2 separate regions of the Homo sapiens genome follow, and region 1 is linked to region 2. Evidence: promoter capture Hi-C in 16 types of primary human blood cells and fetal thymus (Javierre and others, 2016). All regions are on one chromosome and are shown on one strand. Each heading gives the region's core, a stretch centred on a gene start or on the middle of the fragment in contact. The rest is flanking DNA. Distances are from core to core; before and after follow the strand shown. Region 1 overlaps TRAPPC9 (trafficking protein particle complex subunit 9). Region 2 holds the start of KCNK9 (potassium two pore domain channel subfamily K member 9).

What was found. The method cuts DNA at HindIII sites, captures the fragments that hold promoters and counts their contacts. A CHiCAGO score of 5 or more calls a contact.
Region 1: a contact is called between a fragment that was not itself captured here and the fragment with the promoter of KCNK9 in region 2, in 3 of 17 cell types (M0 macrophages, M1 macrophages and non-activated CD4 T cells). The highest score is 5.7, in M0 macrophages.

What each region holds. Positions count from the first base shown.
Region 1 is chr8:140,219,218-140,226,698 of GRCh38, reverse strand. It overlaps TRAPPC9 (trafficking protein particle complex subunit 9), which reads left to right. Exons shown (of 23, transcript NM_001160372.4): 17 at 5,116-5,240. It overlaps LOC124902029 (a long non-coding RNA gene), which reads right to left. Exons shown (of 2, transcript XR_007061118.1): 2 at 3,339-4,747. Among named protein-coding and RNA genes, the nearest start is that of PEG13, 120 kb to the right of the region's middle. The HindIII fragment of the contact is 941 bases long and covers 2,169-3,109 here.
Region 2 is chr8:139,700,416-139,707,329 of GRCh38, reverse strand. It overlaps KCNK9 (potassium two pore domain channel subfamily K member 9), which reads left to right and starts at 4,207. Exons shown (of 2, transcript NM_001282534.2): 1 at 4,207-4,620. The coding sequence starts at 4,338. RefSeq lists silencers at 1,112-1,481, 4,190-4,484. The HindIII fragment of the contact is 15,596 bases long and covers 1,005-6,914 here.

The DNA.
Region 1 (7,481 bases), core at 1,390-3,889, 520 kb before region 2:
CCAGGGTATCTCAATGTGTTGTGGAAGGAGGGTTGCAGGCAGGCCCCATACCTGGATCTTTTTCTTTTTTTTTTCCTTTTTCTTTTTCTTTCTTTTTTTTTTTTTTTGAGACCGAGTCTCTCCCTGTCACCCAGGCTGGAGTGCAGTGGTGTGATCTCAGCTTACTGCAACCTCTGCCTCTCAGGTTCAACCAGTTCTCCTGTCTTAGCCTCCCCAGTAGCTGGGACTATAGGCATGCACCACCACGCCCAGCTGTTTTTTGTATTTTTAGTAGAGATGGGGTTTCACCATGTTGCCCAGGCTGGTCTTAAACTCCTGACCTGAAGTGATCCGCCCACCTCAGCCTCCTAAAGTACTGAGATTACAGGTGTGAGCCACCACGCTGGCCCATAGCTGGATCTTTATAACGTGATTCAGAGGAAGACAAACCGGAGTCTTTTCTTCCTAGAATTTGTAAATCAAATCTCAAAGGAGGGCTTTTCATGTCCCTTCTCGTACCTTCTGTTTGTTCTCTGGATACACACTGTTGATGGGATGTTTTCATCTCTGGCCATGGCAGGATCAAGGCCAACCTTGATCCCACCAGAACCACATGGGATGAAGAAGGAGCTGCTCCCCAAAGAAACGAGAAATGCTGGGCAGACAAAAGCCAGATGTTCACTCTGCTTTCCTCTACAGGCCAAAACTTCTGACCATTTCCAGAAATGAAGAATTTACCATTGTTATAAGTGTAAAATAGGATTGGTATTTCCAAGGCAAAAACAAACAAACAAAAAGAATCTGGGTCCTTCAGGAGATAAAAGCGTTGGTGTAATTTGCGAAGGATGGGAGCCTTCCCTCGGGAGGAGCTGGCCAGGCTGTATTACGGGTCCTGTGTATATGTCAGAGAGAGGGGTGGAGATACAGAGAGACACACAGACACACACACAGATGAGATGGCAAAAATACCCCTTTGGGCACCTGGCCTTCACTCAACAGAGGACGGCTTACTGGGTGAAGTCACATTGAGTGGTCTTTCATACCATGCTTGCTTAGAGGTCCGCTTGACCTGGTTCCTGGGGTAACATGCTAGAGAAATGTGGAGTTTACGTTTTGCACATGGCTCTGTTCATAATACTAGTACCCTTCACAGCAGGCATTATGGTGTCGTGGAGAGATTTTATAAATTGTGTCCATGGTGCTGAGAGAAATGAGAAAAAAGAGAGAAAATAAACTCATTCAAACTTAACAGCTTTTGATTGAGTCTTTACAAATAAGTCTTCGCACATATCTACCTGATGAAATTTCAGTTAACCAGGAGTTGGTTGTTGAATGTGACTTTGGGATGATGGAATTTTTATTGAGCGTGTGTGTGTAAACTGTGTGCGTGTCAACTAAATACTGGATTTGACCCTGTAATTTATTCATTCATTTAGTTACTATTTACTGAGGGCTTACAATTTGTTAGAGCCTGCATCAGCTACTATGAGGGGCATAATGGTGAATCTGACAAGAATTCAGTCTTCAAGGAGTTTGTAGTCATGAAGGAATGTAAGACATGCATAATTTGCTGCAGTAGGAATAAGAACAGCTCTTTTTACTGAATGCTTGCCCCGTACCAGGCGTTGTGATAAATCCTTCCTATGCAATAATTCGTTTATTCTTCTGTATAACCTCACAGTATATGTGTTCTAATTATTCCCATTTAGGGGATGATGGATTTAAAGCTTGTAGAAGGTTATTTGACTTGATGAAGTTCATTCAGCCAGGTAGAAGGGGAGCCGCACCTCAGCCCCGACCCCTCTGATCTCCTACCGGGCTCTCTGCATGTATACAGATCAGCAGGAGGTAGGCACGGGTCTCAGGACAGAGAAGATGCTGGAACTCTGAGGAAGACGTACTTGCTTTCCATTAGGACAGCTAGGGGAGGCATTATGGAAGAGGTAGCATTTGAACTGAGACCAAAAATTGGGGCATATTAGGATATCAGATTGTCAGAGGGAAGAGAATTACCAATACATAAAGGTAAAAAAAAATGGGGGTAGAACAAGGAGTGACAAGGAATAAATTCTGGTAGAAAAATGGCCTACCAGTTGCAGGGACTGACATGGTTCAAAGCTGGGCCTTAGGCCCAGTGAGGGCTGCTTTATTTACGGTCTACCCTTTGCTTTGTGGCCCTACCTGAAGCTTCCCAGATTTGCTATCCACTCTCCATGGGGAACACTGAACACCACTGTTTTTCACATCGAGTCCTTTGAGTATGTCAAAGGTTCTGCTCAGATTCTGCTCAGATTCTCTTGGTGAACTCTTCTGAAATCTGCAGGCACCTCTAGGGGATGTTTGTCAGGCTCATGTCTCTGTCTTTCCCCCTCTGCTAGACAGTAGCCCTGTAGTTCTTGTTAGCTCTCTGATGCTTGCATGGATTTTAAGACTACTTTGTCCATGTTTTCTAGCTGTTCTCAGTGGCTGAGCTGGTCTGAGTTGTCTAGCTTGTTATGAGGAGTAGAATCTTCTGAAGTTCATTTCATGCCTATTCAGCCTGAGCTGCTTGTGGGACATCAGGTGGACCTTTGCTGCCCACATGCAGTGCTTGAAGAGGGGCCAGTTGGGCACCTCCATTTTCTTCTAAGTGCAGAGAGGACCCTGCTCTTAAGTGCTTGATCACAGTCTTCATACGTGTCTTCCATAGGCACCACCAACAGAAACAGATCAGTTTGTCATTTTTCTTATTGTAGATGCACAATGTCTGATTCCTTCATGTGCTATTTTGGGCATAAGGTGCCATGGACTTTTCAAGTAGACTATTTTTTAACGTAAGATAATTTAGCTTTTGAAGATTTGAAGCCTCTAAGTAGAAAATTGCTTAATTCTTCTTTACCCAGTTGAATATTGTTTGTCATCCTGAAAATTGAACTACTTAAGGGGACATACCTTAGCAAATGATGCTTAAGAGAAGTGTTTTTGTTTTTTTTTTTTTAAATTATGAACTATTTCTATTATGCTTGGTTAATTGCATATTTTTGCAAAGAGATATTAGGCATAGGGCCATGGGCCTAAGTTATTGCGAATTTGGAAATATACATTTTGTGTCAATTAAAAGTAAATACTCTTCATCTTATCACAAGAAGCTTTAGTTTCTTAATAAGAAGTTACTTAGATGGGTTCGTTTGAGATATGCAGCCATTGAAATTTTCTTTCCCAACAACTGTGTTAAAGCGAAAAGGATCCTAGGCTTAGAATCAAAAGCACCGAGTGTGAGTTTCAGACTTGCCACCCGTCTACCCATCCATCCATCCAATCAAGTTTACTAAACATCCATTCATGTGTGGTACGATGCCTAGGATCAATGACTGCCAGTATGACTGCGAGCAGGTTGTTTATTGCTGTTCTTTAAAATGGGGACAAGTTTCATTATCCTCAGCAAACTAACGCAGGAGCAGAAAACCAAACACCGCATGTTCTGTCTTACAAGTGGAAGCTGAACAATGAGAACACATGGACACAGGGAGGGGAACAACACACGCTGGGGCCTGTTGTGGGGTGGAGTGAGGGGAGGGAGAGCATTAGGAAAAATAGCTAATGCATGCTGGGTTTAATACGTGGGTGATGGGTTGATAGGTGCAGCAAACCACCATGGCACACGTTTACCTATGGAATAAACCTGCACATCCTGCACATGTACTCTGGAACTTAAAAAGAAAGAATAAATAAAACGAGGGCAAGTTTAGAAAGCATAAAGTGTCATACTGATGTGAGTCCACATCTTACCAACCTCACTTTCTACCATTTGCTCTTTTGTCTCTGCTGTTGCATGTATCTTAAGTCAAAATCAGTATGAACGTGATTTCTTGCACAAGTTGCCTCTGGTGGTTTGTTCTCTTGGCCTGGTTTACACTGGAAGTCTGTGATACTCGCCATACTCATAGGTAGACTTCTCCCGCATGCCAGCTGGGTTCTGTTAGGGAGCTGCAGCTACTTGAAGATAACTCCTCAGGAGGCAGTATCTTTACGTTCTTGAGAATATATAAAACTGCAGTCAAATATCTCATTCATTCCGCCAGGTCTTCTCTTCTGTTAAATGGTGTATCATGCAGAGGCCTTGGAGACCAGTGCAGACTTTGACATTTCCTCTTGAGTGCTAGGGGCAGGGTGTGAGCCCCCTTTCCTCAGGAGACTCTGCGAGCTGTGTGGGGAGTTGACTTAGGGAAAGGAGTGAAGGCAACGGGGGAGAAGAGCCAGGAGGAAAACTACAGTGACTCTGAGTTGGTGCGAACCACGAAAGCCATCCCTGGACATACTCTCAGAGCTAGCAGGATTTCCTTTTGGGTTGGACATGCGACGTGAGATGCAGAGAGGACTTAAAGATGATTCGTGGGTTAGACCCGTCAATCGATAGATACTGTTAACAAGTAAGAAAAAAACCCAGATGGCAGAGTGTGGCTCCTCGGAGGTTTAAGTAGGGTCTTGTGGCAGAGAGTGGTGGCTGCTTGAAGCTGGGTGAGGAGGTAGCACTTAGACTAAGGTCAAGCGGCAAGAGAGAGCTGGCTGCACGAAGGGAGGGGAACTCATTCCAGCCTGAGGAGCGGCTCAGCAGAGGCCCAGGAGAGAGATGGGCTCTGCGTGGTCCAAACGCAGAGGGAAGGCTGGGGCCTTGGTCATCACATCCAGGTGGTAAGGAGCTGTCCTTTTTAAGGACTGATGCACTCTCAGCTTTTACTCATAGTAGATGTGAATATGTGCTTATGGAGGACACATCAGGCAGCTGTAACTGATACAAGGTAGAATAGTCAGGACAGAAACTGGCATGCTCCTTACAGTCACAGTTTTTGAACAAAATCCCCTACATAAACAAAAACAAAAACAAAACCAGCCTGGGCAACGTGGTGAAACCCCACCTCTACCAAAAATACAAAAATTAGCCAGGTGTGGTGGCGCACGCCTTTAGTCCCAGGTACTAGGGAGGCTGAGGTGGGAGGATCACCAGAGCCCAGGAGGCAAAGGTTGCAGTGAGCAGAGATTGCACCACTGCACTCCAGCTTGTGCGACAGAGCGAGACCCGTCCCAAACAACAACAACAACAACAAACCCCAAAACCAAGCTGACGTGTTACTTATGATTTTTGTTCTTATTTTGTAGATGGAATCAGTGTGAGTGGCTTTCCCCTGTCCAGTCCTTTTCGGCAGGTCGTTCGGCCCCGAGTGGAGGGCAAACCTGTGAACCCACCCGAGAGCAACAAAGCAGGCGACTACAGCCACGTGAAGGTGAGTTGGTATGGCAGACGGCATCTGCCACGTGCCGTTCGGGCTTCTGCAAAGCCGTTTCTGAAGCACAGCTCTGAGTCCTTTTCAGAAAGGAAAGGCTATGTGTATTTGAAAGCTGGATTCTTGGTATTCTTTGTTCTTGGACAATGTTTTGGAAAGCCGTCACAGTGAAGCTTGAGTGCATTGTTTGGTGTTGCAAACTCTTATGTCCTTGGAACACGGAGATTCCGTGGGCTGAATCCAGGCGTGCGGTGATTAAAGCAGACTCTCTCCTGCCGTTTCTCTATTCATTTGAAAAGTTTATTTATTGCATACCTCAGTTCGGATGTTTACCCTGTACATTTTTCTTAATCTTTTGGCAACCCTTCCCAATTGTTGGTTTGGAAGCACCAAGGAAGCCAAGACAGATATGCCGGTAGCAAGTGAATGTCAGTGCAAAGCTACGTGCCGCGGGCTTGTAGGCCAGCAGTGAGCAGAGGTGGCTGCTGGCTCCGTGGAGAGGCCTACACAAGTGCTCCGGGGTTTTGAGTCTTCAGCACATGGGAAGCTCTGGCTGTTTGAGCTGGCCCAGGGACAGCGTGTAGAGCAGGAGGACTGCAGGGCCTAAGAGCTGTGACTGGGCTGCAGGCGGCAATGTCACTTTCAGGCACACTTGTGTTCAGGACCAGCCTTTGGGATGCTGTTTACAGTCCTCATGCCAAATTTAAGAGGGCAGGGACTGGTTAGGAACATCAGAATCGCTTGGCCAAGATGCTTGTGAGTCAGTGATACAGTGGACTTTGAGGCATTGGAGCTGCTGTCACTCAACCAAGAGGAGGGGTGGAGGAGCATGGGGTGCTATCTGATGAGGTCATGGCAAGAAGGAATAGGCCAGTTCTGGTTGATGGAGGTCATGTCAGTGGATTGAACTTGGAAGGAGCTAGTTTTAGGGGAAGAGTCCTCTCCCCTTTTGGGCTCTGCAGTAAAGAAGGGGGTTGTTGGTAGCGGGGAGTGCCCCATTCCTGGAGAGCTTCTGTTTGCACGGCAGCTTGGTTACTGTGTTGCTGGGCTCTTGGGTTAGCCAAGGGGACTGGTGTGGGAGAAGCTTCCCAGCAGAGGCAGCAAAGGCCCCAGAGTGCAACTGCACGGCACATGCACGGAGCTACCAAGTACGGGAGGGTGCTGTCTGGTGGGCTTGAGGCAGACTTTCTTTGCATGTCTCATAATTTTTTGTGGAAAGCTGGATCTTTTAGGTAATGGATCGTAGCAAGTTGGAGGCTGAGCCCCACCACCCTCCCCTGGCGCTGCGTGTTGCTGTTCTTCTTGTTTGTCCATCAGTTTTGCAACTTGCCTTGACTTACCTTCGTGGAGTCTGTTTTCCTCAGTGTGTGACGTCTCTGCTTTGTTGGTGATTTTCTCCTTCCTGTTTTTACTGCTTGCCTGGATTCCCAGGGCGTGCCCCAGGTGCCCTGGAGCTTTGTGGGCAGCCAGTGTCTGATTAGAGGTTGTGCTGAAATGCTTCAGTTCAGCAGGCCTTCCACCATTCCCCGATGGATCTGCACGTGCCTTGGGGATTGCTGTCAAACTGCAGGGCTGTTTCTTTCGTCTGAATTCACAAGGCCTCACATTGAGCCAGGGTCAGTGGCTCATGGGGGCCCTCTCTGGTTTGTCCTGAACGTGTGAGGGCTTGTGCATGTGCACAGCTGCCCAGGTTTCCAGCGTTGTGGGACCAACAGGCTCGTTTGCCCCGTGTATAGTAGCAGACCCATGACATGGAGACAGCAGGGTTTGCAGCGAAGAGATAGTTTAATGACAGCAGGAAGCCACACGAGGAGGTGGGAGGAGACCCTTAAACCCATCTCCCTGAGGAATTCTGGGCTGCGGGTTATAAGGGGGTCGTGGAAGGTAAGGACCTGAAAAGCTGGGGTCATTGGTTGTGGTGAGGGGGATGAAACATCAGGATGTGGAAACTGCATTCTTTGATGAATTAACTCTCCGTGAGGTCCCTCAGACACCTGGCATAAGTGGGGTCCTTCAGGCCAGCAGATGTCGGTAGTTACACTGGTATGCGGGACCGGAAGGACTATCTCAAAGGGAAAACGTAACGTTTTGTAACGTTCAAGCGGCTATCGACGGAGCTCTTAGGGGAACTAGGGTCTTGGAGCAAGGTCTGTGTGATTCTGGGGCAATTCAGGCTCCGGCAGCGCTGAGGAAGCAGGCCGGGCAGGCTGCCCTCGCGATGATCGCCGAGTGTGCTGCAGG
Region 2 (6,914 bases), core at 2,958-5,457:
AGGATGTCGTGGAGCAGCAGACAGCCCACCCTGGCCCAGACACACTGCGGTGATGTGGAAGAAGTACTGGCCTGGGAATTGGGTCCTCCCTTACTCACTGTGGGACCAGGATAAACTGCTGGGCCTCTCTGGGTAAGAACAGGGGCTGCAGGCACACCCACTGTGTGTAAAGAATGAAGCAAACAAGTAGGCAGCAAGCAGATAGAGTTATAAAACCATGATGTTCTTTATTAGCTAATAAGGTACATCTGTTTTTACAGAAACTGAGGTCCAAGGGAGGCCCATGTTGGGGCTGCTGGAGGGCGCAGACAGGCTGTAAACACAGCGCATGGGCACCAGGAGCACCGGACAGGCTTGGGACCAACTGACTGTGGCTTAAGCCCACAAGAGAATGCACTTGCTCACCCCAGTTGGGTGGCTCGCGTGTGCGCCACGTGCCTGCATTGGGGTTCTCAAAGAGTCGGGAAGGACCCGCCTCCCTCCTCAGGTCACCTATCTGCTGACAGCCCTACCCAGAGGAGGGCTCTGATTGGTTGAGGTGGGCCTTCACACGTCCAAATCCAGCCAATCACCGTGGCTCTGGGGAATTCTGGACTCTGATTGGCCACACCTCAGTTCCACACGCTTCTCGAGGTGGGGCTAGAGTTGGGACACCCAGACCCACCCGGGCTGCCAGGGAGGCAGGCACGCAGAGGCGCTGCCCCCAGCCAGACTCTCTGGGCTGCTGTGTGGCACACACCATCCGGGATGGATGCTGGGGATGTAGGGAGGATGCTTGATTGAGCCCCAGGCTTTGCTCCCAGGAGCTCCCATTCCACCCGCAGGTCCAGCGCCTTGGAAAGTGGCACATGTGGGGTGTGGACGGGCGGACGAGGAACCCTCTGCTTCCACGGCTCAGACACTGCCTGGGAGGTCCTGAGTCCACGGGTCTATTCCCACGGGTGGAAGAGAGGAAGAACCAGGGTCTGGGGGCTGGTAGGTGGCCACTCAAGGCACTCTAAGCTTGGGGCCAGAAAGCAGCGGGGGTCCTTAAGCCACGGAGAGGCTTCCAGGGCTGGCTCCACATCGGAATCACTGTGGGATCCTGGGCACGTGATCCTGTCTTGCTGGAAGTTTTCCCATCTGTAAAACAAGGGGTTTGGAGTAATTCATCTCAGAGGTCCTTCCAGTACTCATACAGCGGTTGCGCTTTCCTGAAAGGCTGTATGCAAATGGAGTTCCGTAAACCAAATCGAAGTGGCTCTGCAGAGCGCGGCGTCTGCCGGCGCGCCCCTCCCCCGCCCGCGCTGCCGCGGGGACAGCCTGGACTTCCCCGCAGCGAGGCCGGCTGCGCGGCCGCCGCGTGGGTCGGAGTCCAGTGCCCCCTGGTGGCGCCGAGGCGGGCAGGCGGCTTCCGGACCGCGCGGAGGCCCGACGGCTGTGACTCAGGGGTGGCGCCGCTGCCAGGGCGGCGGGAGGCCTGACTGGGGTTCCGTCGTGGGCTGAGCCACGGCGCAATTAATTACCAGCTGCTGGGAATCCTTGTCGCCCGCTCGCGGTGACTCACCCGGCAGCCAGGCTCACTTGCCGAGCGCGGGGGCCTTGGTTTCCAAAATGAATCTGGGGAGAGTGCCTGCTCGGGGTAGGGCTCCCCGCTCCCTCGCCCCAGGGCGCCCGCAGACCCAGCGAGGACCTGACGGCTCAGACGTAGCCCACAGCGCGGGCTCCCCTTCCCTGGTGGGCACCCGTGATCCCTGAAAGTGGGGTGCAGAGCGTCCCAGCTGGGAGGCCTCGGTGAATCACTGGGGTCCCAGACCCTCTGGGCCCGGGGTCCCTGAGGCCAGGGAGCCCGAGCACCGCTCCAGGGGGCGACCCACAGAAGGGACTGGTCTCCTGGAGCCCGCGAGCTGCCCGAGGGTTAGGTCTGATTCCCCAGCCACCCCTTGGCCAGCTGCTAGCCTGCCGCCAGGCAACTCTTTCCCATCTCCATCCCTTCCTTGGCTGGGGTCAGGAGAGGAAGAGGAGCCCAGGGGTCTCTGAGGCTTGGGTCTGTCCTTTTGGAGCTCCAGGGCTCCAGGCGGGATTCAGGAAGCCGAAGGTCAAGGAAAAGCCCCTCGATAGCCTAAAGGGAGAGGGCGGGGAGGGGGAGGAGGTAAAGGAGGCCAAAATGGGAAGGAGATAAAGCCTGGAGAGGGCTCATCTGGAAGCAGGGAATAGGTGCGCCCCAGCCCGAGCCTCGTGTTCCTACCCCAGGTGGTCTCGAGGGGGCTATCGCGTGGCTCAGGGCTGCATCCACGGCGCACCTTGCGCCCAGCTGTGGGGAACCAAAGAGTGATTATATATATCAAAGAGTGATTATATATATATATATATATATATATATGTGTGTGTGTGTGTGTGTGTGTGTGTGTGTGTGTGTGTGTGTGTATTTTTTTTTTTTCCTTCAGTAAAGCAACAGAGAGGTTACTGGGTCGGGGGATTGCGATGTCTTTCCCCGCTGTCCTGACTCCAAAAGTGGCGGCCCATGCTGTCCTTAGCGCTCTCCAGGGAAACGACTCGGGTCTGCAGGTGCTGGCCCAAGCGGGCTGTGCCGCTGGGAGGCGAGGGGGCCGAGGCAGCCCTCGGGACCCCACCACTCCACGAGGCCATGTCCCTGGCCAATGACACGCTCCCGCGCCGGGTGGCTAGGTGGGGGGTGGGGGGTGGGGAAGACTTCGTGAACCGCTGCTGCCGCTCTCCTGTGTGCCCATGGCCCCCTCCCCTTCTGCTCCCCACTCTCTGCCCAATCTGCCTGAAGCTGTCAGCCTGCCATCTCTGGCTGAATCCCGTTTTCCTCCTCCAACCCCGAGTCCCTCAAACTCTCCACCCGCCAGGGCTGCTTGCGCTCTTGGGGAGCGGGGCTAGAAGGACCCAAGAAGCCGCGTTTATCCTCCCATCCCCCGCCAAAACCCGCCGGCGGCTCCGCCCCCGCCCCCTCCCTGGCGGCTCAGGCCGCCCCTCCCGGGCTCCCTCCGCGTGCGCCCTGCGCCGCGCTGGGTCTGCAGCGGGAGCTGCCACAGCAGCCTCGCCAGCTGGCTGGGGACCAGGCGGGAGGTGGCGCGCCCTGGAGGCTGCGGGAGGGAGGGAGGGAGGGAGGCCCGGCCTCGGCGTAGCCCGGCCCCCGCTCCCCGAGGCCCTCCCGCCGGAGCGGGGCTGCCAAGCGCACACACACACACACACACACACGCACATACACACGCGCACACACACATTCGGGCTCCCAACGGCGCGCACGCACGTAGCGCCCGGGGCAGACCAGCGCGGCGGCCGCCTCCCGGGACGCCCGGACGCCGGAGGGCCCCGACCCCCGCGCGGCTCATGCGCCCGCGTCCGCCCCGCTGCTCCGCGAGGCCCGCGGGACCCCTCCCGCCGCCGCCGCCGCGCCCGCCGCCCCCGGAGGAGCGGGCTGGCCGACCGCCACCGCGCCGTCCCCCGGCCGCCCCCGAAGCCGCTCCATCGCGGTCCCTGCCGTCCTGGGGCCGCGCCCCGCTCCCGCGCCTTGGGGGTTGAGCCGAGCAAACTTCGCGCACCGGCCGACGCCCGGCGGGGACCCCGCTGCGCACCCGCGCGCCCGGGTGGGCGCTGGGCGCGCGGACCTTTGGGGAGCGGGCTGCCCCTCCCGCTGCACCTGCTCGGCCCCCTCCCCGCTTGCAGGGGACTCCAGAGACACCGCCACTTCGCAAACTTTTCCTCCCCACCACCGAGAGGGGGCGAGGAGGGGTAAAAGGGGAAGCAGGTTCCGCTGGGCGCGCGGACCTGCAGGCTCCTTGCTGGGCACCGCCACCCGCGAGCTGGACCCACAGGGGTACCGGGCCCCGCGGCCGCCCTCCGGCCGCTTTCTGGCTCCGGTTCCCGTCCCTGCGTTTCCCGCGGGAGCGGGGGGCGGGGTGCGGAGGGCAGCAAGGCCCGCGCGGTACCCAGCGGGGCCGCCCTGCATGGCCCTGCGCAGTGGGGCGGGCTGCTTCGGCCGGGTCTGGCGCAGGGTGTCGGGGTTCCCGGACGCCTGGCCCCGGCGCTCGAGCAGCCTCCTGTGCCTGTCCGCCTTCTCGGCTGAGCCCGGGCCCGCGCCGCCCCTGCCCCGCCAGCCGCCTCGCGGTGGCGGTGGCTGTGGCGGCCCCAGCGGAGGGGGCCCCCCCCAGCCTCCCCGCCCCCCGCCTCCCCGCTGCTGCTGCTGCTGCTGCCGCCGCCGCTTACAACTTGGAGGCGGCGGCGGCGGCGGCGGAGGAGGAGGCGGCGGCGGCCGCCGGGCGCTGCAGTGGGACGCGCGCGGCTGTGAGCCTGCGGGACATGCCCCCCGCGCCGGCTCCTTGCTGGCGGCCATGAAGAGGCAGAACGTGCGGACTCTGTCCCTCATCGTCTGCACCTTCACCTACCTGCTGGTGGGCGCCGCCGTGTTCGACGCCCTCGAGTCGGACCACGAGATGCGCGAGGAGGAGAAACTCAAAGCCGAGGAGATCCGGATCAAGGGGAAGTACAACATCAGCAGCGAGGACTACCGGCAGCTGGAGCTGGTGATCCTGCAGTCGGAACCGCACCGCGCCGGCGTCCAGTGGAAATTCGCCGGCTCCTTCTACTTTGCGATCACGGTCATCACCACCATAGGTAAGGGCTGGGCGCGCCGCTGGGCTCCCGCGCCCCGGGAGGAGTCCGGGGAGGCGGCTGAGCGCGCCGCGCCGGGCTGGGTGCAGGGCGTCGAGGGTTAAACGCAGCCTCCCTTGGGGGCCTTCCCGCAGCGCCCCCTCCTCTCTAGGGAGCCCCCCCTCCGCGGCGCCTCCGAGCCTCACCCTTCGGGGACCCCACCCGGTGCTCTCCACCGCGCTGGTGTCTGGGCCGGGCGTGCGAGCCCCGAGCGAGTGTGCCTGAGCCGGGAGGGCGGAGGCGCCACTTTTGCGAAGAGAGTGGAGCGCTAAGAATAATCCCATAGCAGACACCCACCCACCCACCGCCCCGGCGCGGGCTGGGCTGCGCGGGGCTCTGAGCCTTACACTTACTACCTCTCTGGGAGTTGGAGAGGGCTGGCCTGGCACCCATGGCTCCTAGAGGGACTCAGGTGGCAGGGGAGTGCGCCTGGGGCGTGAGAGGCACTGACCCTCCGTAGCCCCTGGGCCCCGCTCCAGGCTTCTCTGAGCTCAGATTTCATCTCTCTTCCCCCCGCCCGGCTCCTTTTTTCCCCTGAGTTCCAGTTCTGGAGCTTGGACTTCCCAGGCCCCTGGGAGGAGAGAGTTTGCTCTCTGGTGCTTGCGTTGGGGGTGGCAGCCCCTCAATTGCTCTCAGTAGAGGTGGAGAGTGGGGGCAGGGCAGAACCTGCCCACTCCCTAGGCTGTGACACTGGGAAAGGCCAGTCTAGACATTGCCCAGAAACCAGGGAACTTGAGCCCCAGTCACGAGAGGGGGTCCAGCTGGTAAACTGCAGGGATGCCCGCCAGCCCCACTGCCAAGGGCGCTATTCACAGAGCAGGGTCTCTGGTCGGTCCCGAGGGCAGTGTCCCCTCTAAGGCTGGGGGCTGGGAGGACTCCCGGACGTTATACTTGGAGACCTGTGGGAGCTGGGGCAGGTACCTTCATTCGGGTGGACGTGGTGGATACCCTGCATGGCAGGAGGCAGGGTGGTGTCTCTGTGGTTCACTTGCCCCAGTGAGGCAGGCTGCCTCTCTAGGGCCATCTCCTTGGACTTGCCAAGGCCAGTGTGTTAGTGGGGGTGGTCTGTTTCCTGCACCCCTCAGGGCTTCACACCCCTGTGCCCTGGGCAGGGACCTCCTCCTTCCCCCCTCCCTTCTTCCCAGCTCCTCCTGTCTCGCTTCTCTGGACCTCCTCCTCTAATTTCCCTCTTGATATTTTTCTTTGTCTGGAAATCTCTGCATACTGAAAAAAAAAGGATTTCTCAGTGCCATATGCAACAGGAAGCGCCAGCACAGGACGGCCTGTCTTTCCTTCTTGGTTGAAAATACTTTTTAGAGAGTCATCTTGTTTTAAATGTTTAATTCATTGGTGCAGGTTTTTCTGTTTGTGAAGGAAATTGTCCTTCTGTTATCTACATAATCAGCTTGGCTCTTGCTTGCCCCACGCCCTTTGCCCAGCACCCCAAACACAGATGACTCCTTCCCTTCCCACACTGTGTTTCCAGCTTCTGAGAGGGCCAGTCATTGCCATTTTCTCTGGCTTTAAACTGTGGCAGTGGCACGCAGATGCACAGGGCAGTGATTCTGGGAGACAGGGGCCTGTTTGCTGGAGAGCTGGAGAGTAAGAAATATGCCTCTGAAACTGGCCACCCCTGGGGAAAGGAGAAAGCCCCAAGGCCCTTAAACATGCCTTTAGGGTTGAAGATGGAAGACAGGTGAATTTGGCTAGCATGCTGGCTTCCAGTAGTAAAACAGGCACATAAAATGCTTGGCTGATCCCGAGAGTTGAGCGACAACATCGAGGAGAGGATTGGTGTTAAAAGCAAACTCTGAAATGTGCCAGTTTTCCTTAAGAAATGCATTGTGGAGACTGATGAAGTTCTTACTGAGGTGTGTTTCCATGGTTGATTCTGATTGGTAGCTCTGGGTGTATGCCTGTAACGGTTAAAACTCCAAAGAGAAGCTGTCAAGGGAAGTGTAGCTAAATGGAGGGTGTCGGCTTCGCCTCAGGGGCTGTGGGACTTGTATGAATAAGGGACCAGAGGCCATCTGAGGAATTCGCTGATTTTCCTCGCTTCCTTCTTTGGGCTTTCCACTGATTTTCTGGAAAGAAAGGTTGGGAAAAAAATGTGTGTGTGTGTGTGTGTGCGCGCGTGTGTGTGTGTGTGTGTGCGCGCGCGCGCGTGTGTGTGTGTGTGTGTGTGTGTATGTGTATGTGAATAAAAGACAGCTCTAACACTAACACAGCTGTCCTGTTGTGGAAAGATGTTCAACTTG